Linked DNA regions of Homo sapiens: all the other regions are linked to region 2. Evidence: promoter capture Hi-C in 16 types of primary human blood cells and fetal thymus (Javierre and others, 2016). All regions are on one chromosome and are shown on one strand. The core of a region is centred on a gene start or on the middle of the fragment in contact, and the rest is flanking DNA. Distances in the headings are between cores, read along the strand shown. Region 1 overlaps MET (MET proto-oncogene, receptor tyrosine kinase). Region 2 holds the start of CAV1 (caveolin 1). Region 3 has its middle 3.5 kb from the start of TES. Region 4 overlaps CAPZA2 (capping actin protein of muscle Z-line subunit alpha 2).

Region 1 (3,299 bases), core at 123-2,622, 260 kb before region 2:
GATGTTTAGTAAATTAAAGTGATTAAATGATGTTTAGTAAATTTATATAGACGTGCAGCTATCATATCATCACAGTCCAGTTTTAGATCATCTCAACATTCCAGAAAATTCCCTCATGTCCATTTGTGGTTTATCTTCACTCCTTCTCTTGGCCCCAGGCAACCACTGATTTGTTTTCTGACTCTGTAGTTCTGCCTCTTTCTAGAAATTTCATATAAATGGAACCATTCAACATGTAATTTTTTTATCTGCCTTTTTTTCACTTAACATAATGTTTCTGAGGTTTATCATGCTGTAGTAGGCATCAGTAATTCCTTTATGTTGATGAATGGTTTAGTCCATTGTATGGACACACCACATTTTTTTTTTATCCATTCACCCGTTGATGGACATTAAGATTGCTTCTGGTTTTTGGCTATTATGAAGAAAACTACTGTGATCATTCATGTACAAATCTTCATGTGGGCATATGTTTCATTTCATGTGCTCATTAGCTAGCTATTCTTACGTCTCTTTGGTAAAATGTCTATTCAAATCTTCTGCTTACTTAAAAAAATTGAGTAATATTGCCTTTGCTATGGTTTGAATGTGTCCCCCAAAGTTCATGTGTTGGACACTTAATCCCCTCCCAATGCAACAGTGTTCAGAGGAGGGATCTTTAAGAGGTAATTAGGTCATGAGGCTCTACTCTCATGGGTGAATTAATGTCATTATCTTGGGAGTCAGTTCATTATTGTGGAAGGGGGTTTGTTAGAGAATCTGTTCACCTCTTGCTCTCTCTTGCACTCTCTCACACCCATGTGATGCCTTCCACCATGTTATGACACAGCAAGAAGACCTTCAGCACATGTGGCCCCTTGATCTTGGACTTCCTGGCCTCCAGAACTGTGGGCCAAATACATTTCTGTTCATTATAAATCCCCCAATTTGTGGTATTGTGTTATAGCAGCACAAAACGACTAAGACAGTCTTATTATTGAGTTGTAAGGGTTGGCTCTGGCTTCTTAATGGCAGACTAACCCTCAAGTCTGAATGAACAGTATGTTCTTGGAGGATGGGTTAATTCTCCCTATCTTTTGCCTTCACCTGCCACTGTCACTAACATGTCCCCAGTCTCCCTCTCTAGCACCCACTTCTTTCACCTCTTTCAGAATCTTTCAGGATCAAAATCCCAGGCATTAAGCTCTACATGGCACTATCACTTTCTCTTACCAATCTCATGCATGCTGAAGTCCTGGTCCTCCACCATGACCTATGACCTACTTACTCATTGAAAACAAACTCCCAGTCACCTCGTCTTATTCTCTAATAGTTCCCCTACCTCCTCACAGGAACTGAAACTCAGCTTTCAGTTGAAGTCACAATTTCTTTGCAACTCTTGCCAATAGGGGTCACACCTCTCCCTCTTGCTGATTCACAGAGAGGTGGATGAGATGACTTCTTGCTTCCCATGCCACACTCAGATCTCTGACCCATCATCTCTCAAAAGCTACCAACCCTTTCTCTTCAAGTGCATGTCCCCCATGAACATTATTTTCTGACTACTTTGTTTGCACATTTTCCTTTTTTAGTTGTCATCCTTAAGGACTGAAACATCAAATGTTTCTCTATCTTCAGACATCACAGTCCTCTGACTTACAACATGTGAATAGAATAAGTGTACTCTCCATTCCATTCAACACCTGTGCTCCTAAGCACACTCTAGACCTCCAAATCACTCAAGTTACTCAGCTTCCAAGACCCTTCTGGTGTACTGAGTAGCAGTGGACTCTGTTGAGCATCCAATTTCTCCTTGAAACTTTCTCTTACTCTGACTTTCATGGTGGTCTTTGCTTCTGGGTCCCTTACCTCACTGCTTTTCTCTTTCACTTTATATATGTAGTTGAATAATTGCTTTTGGACTACTGAATAATTGCTTTTGGACTCTCAAAAGCATATTCCCAGCCTTGACCCCTGCTATGGACTGAATTGTGTTCCCCGGAAATTCATATGTTGAAGCTCTAAGCCCCACTGTGACAATGTTTAATGATGGGGCCATTTAGAGGTAATTCAGTTTAGACAAGGTCATGAGGGTGGGCATTCATGCTGGGATTAGTGCCCTTCTAAGAAGAGATACTGGAGAACTGACTCTTATTCTTTTAGCCATGTGAGGACACAGCAAGAAGGTGGCCATCTATAGGCCAGGAAGAGAGCCCTCAATAGAGCCCAACCATGCTGACATCCTGATCTTGGACTTCTAGCCTTCAGAATGGTTAGAAATACATTTTTGTTGTTTAAGCCAACCAGTCTGTGGTCTATTGTATGACAGCCCAGGCTGAATAATACATTTTTTACAAGTTGCAGATTCACATTTTCAATTGCCTGATGGACTTCTCTGCCTGGACATTCTACTCCCAAGGCAAACTCAGTGTGTTTAAGGCTCAACTTGCTATTTTTGTTCTGAGTCCAGCTTTTGCTTCTGTGCTTCATATATGTGTTATTGCATGAGCATATATCTTTGCTAATCTTTGACTTTTTATCAATTCCTTGGTAAATACTTCTGATTCTACCTCTGAGATGCTCCTCCTTTCATCTCTTCCTTTCCATTCTCATTGTGTCTTATTTCAAGTTCCACTTCTCACTTCATCTTCCTGCTTCTACTCCTTTCAAGTTGTCTTGGAGAATGATTGATATGGTTTGGATTTGTGTCCCCATTCAAATCTCATGTTGAATTATAATCCCCAGTGTGGGAGCTGAGGCCTGGTGGGAGGTGACTGCATCATGGAGGTAGATTTCTCCCTTTGGTGCTGTTCTCGTGATAGAATTCTACGGAGATCTGGTTGTTTAAAAGTGTGTGGCACCTCTCCCCTTGGTGAAAGCTTGTCACCACCTTGGTCCTGCTCCTGCCATATAAGATGCTCCCCCTCCCCCCACTTGGTCCTGCTCCTGCCATGCAAGATGCCTGCTCCTGCTTTGCCTTCTGCCATGGGTAAAAAGCTCCCTGAGACCTCCCCTTAGTGCTGGGGCTTTGCCAGGTGGGGCTGTGAGAAGAGGGCCACCATCCTCTAGACCCCAGAAAGGTAGATCCACTGACAGTTTGCACCGTGTGCCTGGAAAAGCTGCAGGCACTCAATGCCAGCCGATGAAAGCAGCCATGGGGCTGAGCCCTGTAGAGCCACAGGAGCAGAGCTGCCCAAGGCCTTGGGAGCCCATCCCTTGCATCAGCGTGCCCTGGATATGAGACATGGAGTCAAAAAAATTATTTTGGAGCTTTAAGATTTAATAACTGCCTTGCTGGGTTTTGGACTTGCATAGGGCCT
Region 2 (3,306 bases), core at 176-2,675:
GCAAAAAGAAAAACAAGCGATGAGAAGTCAGCCTGGCGGCGGGGGAAACCTCGAGCTCGAAATCGAACTAACCGCTCCGACAGCTACGGCTCCGTGCACAGAAACCGCCTGCGCGTAGCCAGCTTTTTAAGAGGATCTCGCAGAGGACACCACACCCCTCTGTACTCTGCAGGGCGCGCCTGCCTCCCCCGCCCGCCGCCAGGGGTCAGGGCAGGCCCCGCCGCGCGGTCCGAAGGCCCCCGCCCGCGCACGCCCCGGCTCAGCACGCAGGACCCGCAGGACCCGCAGGACCTCGGCGGCGAGGGGGCAGCCGCAGGCTTCTCCCGGACTCCCTAAGCCGAGTCGCTCTCGCCCTGAGCGCTTCACCTGTTTCGCGTTCCCGTCCCCGGTCCCTATTACCCCTGCCCCGGTAATCCCTTCCAGCTTTATCTAAGATCCAACAGCAGCCGCCCGACCCGTGGAATGTTCCCTTTATCGCTGCTTCTTGGCCGCATCCCCCTCGCACCTGCCCGCGCCCCCCACCCTGCCTCGGCCCTCTCTTGTCCCTCCACGGCTCTCCCTGCTCAATCCGCCGTGATGATCACAATCCCGAAAGTCCCCATTTTTGGCGGAGCCAGGCACCAGACCCCCTAAATGTCCTAGAACTCAGTCTCACCTGCGCAGCTCCCCCGACCCACCCTCAGGGCACTCCCAGGCTGCGGGCGGGTGGCTGAAGGGCAGCTACGTGTTGGAAGACGAGGTTTCCACACCCGGGCAGAGCTCCAGCGCGTGGAGGGCGTTGGAAGTGATGGTGGCAGTTTGGGGAGGGGAGGTCTACCTCTCTCGGAACACCCCTGCCAGACGCCAAGATGCAGAAGGAGTTCTTGAGATGGTTCAAGAACTTTGGAAAGTGCAAACACACCGCGCGCCGCCTGCGGGACCTGCCGGTCTGGGCGCCTGGCGGAGAGTCCCGGGGACTGTCCCCAGGACTCGGGTAAATAACACCTCCACCCTGCACTCCACCTCTTCGAACCCCCAGCAGGCAGGGCCGGACCGCGGGGGTCCCGCGACAAGGGAGCATCCTAGACCCATCCAGAAAACGCGTCCTGGGCCCAACAGACCCAATCTCAGGACCCCAATCCCCTTTTCCGTGTCCTCCTAGCTCAGGGGCTCCCTAGGCCCCCTCTCCATTAGGAAAACATAAAACATTCCTGGCTTCTCTTCACCTCCCCGCCCAGGCCCATTCCTCAGCGGTGCCAACGCCAGAGGAGTGCTCCGAAGTGGAGAGAGGGCTGGGGCCAGGGCAGCAGTCGGGATATTTGGAGAGGCAGATAGCAGAAGCGGACACTCCCCGCACGCCCGAGCCGGCGCCCCCCCACGGATGCCTACCTCCGAGTCTACGTATTTGCCCCCAGACATGCTGGCCCGTGGCTGGATGAAAACTGTGAGGAGGTTTCCCTGGGCTGTGCTTTAAGGGAACTGAGGAAGGAAGATCTTGTATTGTATGGGGGGAAAAAAAGGCGCTGGAGGGGGGCGGTGGCTGGGAGGGAGCCTCCTGGCCGCCCGCCAAAGGTTTGTTCTGCTCGCGGTTGGCCCGGACGTGTGCTGCGCCGGGTCTAGGCACATCCCCAAGGTTCTGGCAGCAGAGGGCGGGGAGCGCCCGCAGCGAGCAGAGAGCGAGTGAGAACGTTTCTCCCGCGCTGGGGTGCTTGGGCAGATTATTTTAAACCTGAGGCAACATTTTCCCTGCTCTGAACCACCGAGAGGCGTCCCGGGGAGAGCGAATGTTTTCGCAGTGCATCATCTCAGCAGGGGTGGAGGGAGCCGACGCGCCTGCAGAGATGCCCAGTATGGGCAACCAAGGCGGCAGAAACAATCCACAATCCTGCCCTGTCCTAAGCCGTCCCTTCCCACCTCCCCCACCCCCCGCCCATCGCCCAAGTTCCATCTCTGCCTTAAAACACATGTGTCTCCCTGTTTCACAGAGGGAGGGATGAAAGACGGCTAGGAACCTTTAGGTACATTTCACATCTAAACTTTGTGGATCCCTTATGGAAGGAATCTGTGTGGGTGCCTGTGGTGTACTTTTGGTGACACTCGTTTACATCTAGTCGGTGTGGATGGAAACTTAAGCAGGCATGCAGAATTTAACATTTCCCATCCGTTTCTGAAATGTCTCCCAAACGCTTCGAAATAAGAAATGAAGATCTTTAACTTTTCTATAATTTTATTACCGATATTTTCTGGAACAATGGAATTTTATGCCAACAGGTTATGCCATATTTGCAAAATACACAAAATGTTTATAATTGTAGAATTATTTAAAGCTTCAAGTTTATTACCAGAGAAGATTTTTTTTTAATGTGCTTGGCTGTGAGGAAAGATTTGACTTTTCTAATTGACTAGACTTAAAAAAAATGTGATAGCGATTAAAGTATTTTGTCTGTTCCTGAATCTGGGGCTTCTGTCTTTACTTTATTGTAAAGAAGCACAAAATGAATTAAATAGTAATCAGTCATTTTACTCTTGAGCTGTAATTAATCAGGAAACTCATTATCCAAAAATGAAAGGACATGTTACTTATGCTTCCATATGCAGTCAAAAGTCAAAGTATCACTTGAAATTATTTTAAAAAAAAAGCTGGAGTACACTTGAAGGGGCACAGGTTAAAATTAAAATGGAGAGGGGAATGTGGGTTGGGAGTAAGAGGGAGGAGAAAGGGAAATGGATGGAATGCTGAAAGAGTTGATTATTTAGTTAGAGAGAAGACACAAAAGTATAAAAGAACTATAAAGGACAGGCTATTGTTGGTAGCAAAAATTTTTGGAACAAAAGATCAGTTTTAACTAAGAATGGCAGGGAAAGTGTCACAATGTTACAAATGTTGGCATGCCTGTAATTATGTTGGCCATTCATGATTAGCAGACTAAAGATCTTTCAAAAGTTGGATTTTCCCAAATACCACATTAGTGGGAGCTAAATGATGAGAACTCATGGAAACAAATAGGGAAAAAACAGGCACTGGGGCCCACTTGAGGGGTGGAGCGTCGGGGAGGGAGAGGAGCAGAAAAATAACTATTGGGGAGTAGGCTTTGTAGCTGGGTGATGAAATAATCTGTACAACGAATCCCTGTGACACAAAATTTAACAAACCTGCACATGTACTCTTGAACCTAAAATAAAAGTTAAAAAATTTGGAATGCTTTAAAATAAGCTTATTTATGAGTAAACAAATAATTAGGGTCTTCCTTCCTTCCTTCCTTCCTTCCTTCCTTCCTTTCTTTTCTTTCTTTCTTTCTTTCTTTCTTTCTTTCTTTCTTTCTTTCT
Region 3 (3,625 bases), core at 642-3,141, 320 kb after region 2:
TTACATTGTGTGTGTGTATCATTGGCAAGGATGGAAATAGAAATTCAGTGAGTTTTATCTGGAATTATCACTGTGCCAATTATATAAAAATAATTATAGATTATGTATAAATTATAAAAATAAAATTGAGGTAGATAAGTGTTAAGAGAGTTAAATTGTAAGTTTTTGTTCAGTTATTCAGGTGTTAAGCTACAGTTATTAAGGAGGTAGAACTGGCATGGTTTGATGAGTACATGTAGTTGATGACAGTGGAATGAATAGAAGATGGCACACATTTCTATCTTGATCACCTCTATGGATAGCTCAGAAAGAGAGAAAATATAGGATGATGGTCAGGGTTTTGTTCAGTTGTGCATTCTTTGGGGCTGGTGGTGGACATAAAGGATACAACTTTTAATATATTGAGTTTGAGACTGAGACATTGAAATGAGTATCCAAATATACATCTTGAATGCTGATTTAGGAGTTCACATCCTACATAAATAAATAATTAAAGGCCAAGAAGTGAGATGAGCCTCGGAGACAGTAAAATAAAAGAGAAGAATATCAAAGACACCAAGTGAGCAAGGCTGAGCAAGAGAAACACATAAAAGAGATAAGGGCTAGATTAAGGGTAAGAAAAAAATTAGGAGTCAAATCCCTAAAAGCAAGAAAGGAAATTGAAGAAGAAATTAGTTAACAATGTCAAATTGTAGAAAAGGGTCAAATGCCCTTCGGATTTAACAAAAAGGAGATCATTGGTGACTTTGGAAAGTGCATTTTTGGTGCAGTTGTGGGGAAAGATATTACTTTATAATTTTATCTCCCTTTGTTTCTACCAGAGTGCTTTAGTCAATGTTGGACTTGACTTTTCCACAAAACTTATGGACACATCAGCCAAATAAATGCCCAACTCTGCTGTTTCAATCAAGTAGAGAGGAAATCAATATACTATACTGGATAATACTAAGGAATGGTCTTAAGATCTTTATCTTTAGAGAAGTAAATGAAAATACTAGATTTTACACATGTGTGCAGGCACACACAGAGAGAGAGAGACAGACAGAGACAGAGACAGAGGAGAGAGAGAGAGAGAGACTGAAGTTCTCTGTATAGGCCAAACAAAATATTTATTCAGGTTAAATTCAGTTTCTATGCTATCAAATTACAATATCCGATGAGGGAAATGTGTTAAACTTTTATGTACCCTTCATCACTGGAGAGATGTAAAAATACATAAGACATTCCCTTTGTTCTTAAGCAGTTTACAGATTAGTATGGGAGTAGCAGGTGTGTAAGAGTAATGAAATGTTACAGGTAGAGGGAAGCACACGTGAGAGTCAGGGAGAAGGTGGTATTGGGATTTGTAAAATCTTTAGAAAAGAGTAACCTTGGCTTAGTCTTGGAAGATGAATAAGTGTCTTAGTTAAAACTCTTGATTGCAAGTTATATTAGGCCGTTCTTGCACTACTATAAAGAAATACCTGAGACTGGGTAATTTATAAAGAAAAGAGGTTTAATTAGCTCACAGTTCTACAGGCTGTACAGGAAGCATACCTTCTGCATTGGCTTCTGGGGAGGCCTCAGGAAGCTTACAATCATGGCAGAAGGCAAAGTGGGAGAAAGCACTTCACATGGTAAAAGCAGGAGCAAGAGAGACAGAATGTGTTGGTGGGGGAGGATGAGGTGTGCCACACAATTTTAAATGACCAGCTCCCCTGTGAACTCAGAGAGAATGCTCATTTATTGCCAAAGGGATGGCCCAAGCCACTCATGATCCAAACACCTCCCATTGGGCCCTACCTCCAGCATTACGGATTACAATTCAACATGAGATTTGGGTGGGGACAAATATACAAACCATATCACAAGTAATAGTAACCCTCGAGCTAGTTTACTTTTAAAAAGATGGCATTTTATTTTAAGGATACAGAGGCTTGTTGCAAAACTCAAGGGCCAGATGCATCTGCGACTAGACCAGGCACTTGCCAACATCTGGAACAAGGAATCTACTCCTTCACTGGGGTTATGTGGTCTCTCATCTTGCTGCTTGGCCTCCATCAGCTTTAGTTCTTTCTCTTTGAAGACTCTGTTTTCCTGCACACATGGGCAACCAATAAAGGCAGTCTCAGCTCGTTAATTGACATCACCCTAGTTCAAGCAAAATACCCAGTTTGGGATTTCAACCCCTCTAACAAAAAGACTTTAAATAGCCCAGCTTGGATAAGCTTAAACTTCTGATTCAATTAGCTGAAGCTGGTGCCAGTTGAGAGACACAAAGGACAACACATAGACTAAAGCCCAAACTTATAGGTAGGACAAATCTCACAGAGAGGGAGTAATAAGAGTTTTCCAAATGCCTCCAAAGATATCTATCTCTGTTTCAGATGTTACAAGGAAATTAGCAAAGGAAGAGGCTTAGTAAGTACAAGCAGAAGATTTTTCTTTCTGTCGATATTGGAGAACTTTTTCCCTTGACTTTTATTATAGGTTTGGGAGTACATCTGCAGGTTTGTTACATGATTAAATTGCATGTTGCTGGGGTTTGGTTTACAAATGATTTCATCAGCCAGGTAGTGAGCATAGTACACAACTGGTACCTTTTTGAACCTCACCCTCCTCCCACCCTCTACCCTCAAGTAGGTACCATTGTCTATTGTTCCCCTCTGTGTGTTCTGGTGTACTCAATGTTTCTGAACATTTCAAAAACTATTTAAATTACAGAAACCCCACTTGGGCAAAAAGTTGTAGATGTTTATTTTATTGCTAGGAATGGGGGTAGATAATGAATAGGACAAGTCTAAAGAATGGAAGATTAATCAGGAGATTCTAGCTATAGCCCACAAGAAATATGATGAGGGCCAAAGTAAAGCAGTAGCAATGACTGTGGAGAGTTAGAAGGATTTATCAATGATATTAAACAGGTAGAAAATATTGGACTTGACTGATTCTTGAAAAGAGAGAGGATAAGGAATCCATTAGGATTCTATTTTCTATCTCTTAGGAATCTATTTTGGGTGACCAGTTTGGTGGATATAACACACACCTTAAGGCAGGAAACAAAAGTGGAGAAGAAAATTTGATTGAGAAAGATAATGGGTTTTGTTTTGTGTGTATTGATTTGGCAAGGCCAATAGGATATGAGTCTGGTGGACAAAAGAAACATCAGGGCTGAAGATACAGATGATGCTACATACACAAGTACACATACATAAACATATATACATATACACACATAAATACACATACGGAGTAAACACTACATATGCCAGGGAAAATAATTATTGAAAACTTTTCTATACTAGATGAGGTAAACATTTCAAGATGAAAATGATACACCTGTCTCATCAATTATTAATGTGGTCCCAGGAGGCCTCTTTAGAGATGTTAATCATTTATTAACACCTGTCATAGGAACTCCTTTGTGAGCCTGACACAGCTATTATTCCTCATTAGCAGGTTGTATAAGATTACAGGTTGTTCTCTAGGGATATTTTTTAAAGAAAATAGGTGCCAATGTAGCTTAGAGCAAACTAATATCCCATAACTTTTTTAATTGACCAAAAATTGGGGATTGACTAAGTAAATAATGGATGAGCCACATGACAGATTTAGCATAGTTACTGATCAATGATACTTAGGAATG
Region 4 (3,674 bases), core at 36-2,535, 350 kb before region 2:
TCCCTCAGCCTATGTCACCTCTTCAAGATGTGTTTATTACTGGAAGTCAGAAGCAATTGGTAGTGCTACTTCAGTTTTATAATTACCATCTAGAACATGAGGGTACAACGTGAGAGTTTACTGTGGGTTGTCAATCATTACCACAATTTACAGAAATAGATGGCAAAATTAATGTTACTTCACCTGCTTATGTCCATGAATTCTCCAGATTGTTCTAGTGCCTTTGCTGAACATTTGGCAACATGTTTTCAAACACTAAGGTAAAACTTGAGTTCCAGGAGATTTTAAAACTGTCTGAAGAAAACAATTCCTTAACAGGAAATAGAGTCCTCACCAAAGCAGCTATAAAAATGGTAAACTAACAAAAATTAAAAAAAATTTTTTTAAACCTTAAGCAAGGTTTAAAGGAGATGAAAGTATAAAAAGCAGACAATGTATGTGCATGGTAGCACACAGACATACATGTACACACATACACACCACCAAAAAACAACAACAAAAAACAAAACCCCCAAACAGCCATCTAGAGCCATTAAATTTAGAAGCAAAGGACCCTGCACTCTCCAGCAGTCCAAAGGTACACTACTATGGGAAATAGCTATACTAAAAATGACTCACCGTTTAGCTTAAATTCAAATTTACTGAGGCATCAGTATTTTATCTGAGAATCCTACCTAGAGCCCCTATAATTTCCACATGGTATGGGCCGCCATGATCAAGGAAGGAGACATTAGGGTAGGAATTTTTCAGATATGAACGGCAGTCAGACTCACCTGGAAAGCTTGGAAAAAATACAGATTCCCACCCTCTATTCCAGACCCAGTGAATCTATCTCCAGAGAATGGGGACCTAGAAATCTATGTTTTAGAAAATCTCTCCACGTGATTCTGAAAGGTGACCAGATATTGCACCCATGCCCTAAGGGACTTCAGATGTAAAATTTGAAGTGTCTAGTCTTCTTGAGAAATGACTTATAGGTTTTACTTGATTCTCAAGAAAATGTAACACCAAAAAGGGTCACTGCTTTAGACACTGGTAGTAAAATTAAAGGAGCCACTATGCACTTTTCCACTTCAACTAAAAGAATTATTTGAAGTTGTCTTCCACAGCTCTCTAAAAAATGGCTATGTCTTTTGAGAATTAGAGGTAAAACCGGAGGAAAAAACCACTTTTTTGAACTTTATGACATTTAAATAGTTTATGACCAAGTGATCACTATCACATGTCTGTGTGTCAGGTGAATTTATCTTAATATGGGTAAACTTAAGAGTGGTAATTTGTTTTAATAAGTTTTCCTCTAAATTTTTTTCCTTTATAATTATCATTTTGATTGGTAATTAAAAACAGGGCCCACAGCACTTAACCTGAAACTGGGTCATCTAAAGAACTCAACATTGATTCTTCTTTAAATATGTTTTTACCATTTATTTAAAATATGAAGAAACCCATGAATCCAAAGTAGGCATTATCATCAACTAAAAGAAAGTAAGTTATGTAAACTATTCTTTATCTTACGTTTTCAATTTCCTTTTCCCTTCTGAATCATTTCCCTTATACACCCTAGAATGTTCTCTTACAAAAAAAAAGTATTCTTAAAATGAAATAGCAGGAAAAAACAAAGTAGTAATACATATTTTTCTCTTTTGTTTCACTACCAATTTTTTTCAAGAATAATTTGTACTTACTGTCTCCACTCCTCATCCTTTAGTCAACATTTATTGAGCCCCTAATACAGTGATACAGTGAGACTCAATCCTAGTTGCACATTCAGATCACCTGGGAAGCTTTAAAACAACAACAACAACAACAACAAAAAGGAATTACAGACACTCCAGGCCTCACCCACAAGAGGAGCCTGTGCGTTCATTTTGTTTATAAACTCTCCAGTTGATTCTAATGTGCAGCCAGAGTTGAAAATCACTGATTTAATACAGGCTAGGCGCTCTACTGGAATTACAAAGATGGTGAAGACATAAGGCCTGGCCCTGAAGAACACAGGAAATAAGGACAACAGGTAAATTTATTAAAACTGGTAAATGTTATAACAAAGATAAGTACAAATTGCTTAGGGAGCAGAGGTATGTCAGGATACAAAAGAAGAGAAGAAAGTCCTTGAGTCTGGTTATCCAAAGATGAGTAGTTTACAAGGCAAACAAGACTGAAATGCCGTTTCTGGAAAAGGGAAAATACACACATACTTTTTATTATAGACTCCAGTTATCTGGCTTATGTCTCTCCACTCCTTGCTCCAAACACTAGTAAAATTATTCTCTTGAAGGCCACTAATCCCTAGTCCACCACTTAAACAGCCTTAACTGCACCAGTTTCCTGTCTGTACAATGAAGATAATAACAAGGTTATTCTGACAATTAATAGAGAGAATACATGTTAAAGTCCCTGGCATAGAGTAGGTATAATTTGTTTCTCATTCCTTTCTCTTAAATCCAAAGGCTTTTTTCAATCTCATACTCCTTAATCTCTGCAACACTGAGCACCGCTCCTTCTTGAAATTCTCGTCACATTCTGTGACCTCAGCACCTACTCTGTGCTAGCTATCAGTAGGTAACACTTCGACCTCAAGGGTTTCTCCTCACCTTTAGGTCTCTCTCCACTTCTTATTCCTCAAATCAAAGTATAAAGTATACGCTTCCTGCCCTCTCCTCTTTCCCATGTCTAAGCTTTTTGTCCTAAAGGGCTTATCCCATCTCGCTTTAACCCACAAAAAGAGGATTCTCAAATCTCTATATAATCTCTGGAGCTGACCTCTTTTCCAAGCTGTTTCTCTATCTCCGTATCTGCTAGGCATTTTCACATAGACAATGACTAGCATCTCAAACTCCGTACAACCAAAACTAAATTCACCATTATTCCTCCCAGCTGTGTATCCTCTTTCCTGTGTTCTCCAGTTGTTACTAGTGGTACCAATTCCCAGTCATCCAGACTTTAATGTTCACAGTTTTCTCTGACTCACGCCTTTCCCCTATATTCATTTATCAAGTCTTCTTGATTCCAACTCTAAAATCTATTGGCGATCTTTTTTTCCTCCATTTCTTGTGGGACGAACTTAAACCAGGTCCTAAAGTCCACTTAAGCCAGGTTCTCAACTGTTCTTACCAGCTCTAATCTATCTAGACTCATGGGTCTCAACAAGGGGTGAATCTGTCCACCAGGAGACATTCTGGATTGGTAAGCCTGGGTTATGGTAGTGGCATATCATGTGGGCTAAGGATGTTGCTAAACACCCTACAACGCACAGCATGTCCACCTGCCCAACAATATCTGGCCCAAACTGTCAACATTGATGAGATGGAAAAACCCTGACAGTCAGCTGTTAAACAGCACAATTCACCTTTGCATCTCTTATTGTAAAAGTACCAAATATAGAGTAGACACTCAACTATTTAACTGAATTCTTTTTACACAAAACTCACTGCCTGCTTGTTCCCACTTTCCTGTTATTTTTCCCTATGTTGTGCTCTCTGGTATGAGCTTGACCCCAACTGATGTTTACCATACCCCTAGGCAGAAGTAGCTTTTCTATCTTCTAAATTTTTAGACCCAATTTAGTATGTATATTACATATGTCCAATTCCTCTTCGAATCTAGTTTTGCATTATATCTACCTTCCAGGTGATCGCTACACTTTAGTGAATTTAAAACTTAATCTATGCTGT

Evidence for each region. Contacts are between HindIII fragments. The CHiCAGO score rates a contact against its expected background, and 5 or more counts as called.
Region 1: a contact is called between a fragment that was not itself captured here and the fragment with the promoter of CAV1 in region 2, in 1 of 17 cell types (total B cells). The highest score is 5.2, in total B cells.
Region 3: a contact is called between a fragment that was not itself captured here and the fragment with the promoter of CAV1 in region 2, in 5 of 17 cell types (naive CD8 T cells, total CD8 T cells, naive B cells and 2 more). The highest score is 7.8, in naive CD8 T cells.
Region 4: a fragment that was not itself captured here is called in contact with the fragment with the promoter of CAV1 in region 2 in 1 of 17 cell types (endothelial precursors); the score reaches 5.3 in endothelial precursors.

The regions. Positions count from the first base shown.
Region 1 is chr7:116,785,020-116,788,318 of GRCh38, reverse strand. The region is part of intron 19 of MET (MET proto-oncogene, receptor tyrosine kinase); the gene reads right to left. Among named protein-coding and RNA genes, the nearest start is that of CAPZA2, 76 kb to the left of the region's middle. The HindIII fragment of the contact is 2,977 bases long and covers 1-2,860 here.
Region 2 is chr7:116,523,155-116,526,460 of GRCh38, reverse strand. CAV1 (caveolin 1) reads right to left here and starts at 1,425. Exons shown (of 3, transcript NM_001753.5): 1 at 1,369-1,425. The coding sequence starts at 1,398. RefSeq lists silencers at 54-443, 2,852-3,146 and an enhancer at 3,072-3,306. The HindIII fragment of the contact is 5,040 bases long and covers 1-2,308 here.
Region 3 is chr7:116,205,264-116,208,888 of GRCh38, reverse strand. No RefSeq gene overlaps it. Among named protein-coding and RNA genes, the nearest start is that of TES, 3.5 kb to the left of the region's middle. The HindIII fragment of the contact is 637 bases long and covers 1,573-2,209 here.
Region 4 is chr7:116,870,127-116,873,800 of GRCh38, reverse strand. The region is part of intron 1 of CAPZA2 (capping actin protein of muscle Z-line subunit alpha 2); the gene reads right to left. It also overlaps the pseudogene LOC100418716. Among named protein-coding and RNA genes, the nearest start is that of CAPZA2, 9.4 kb to the right of the region's middle. The HindIII fragment of the contact is 1,003 bases long and covers 784-1,786 here.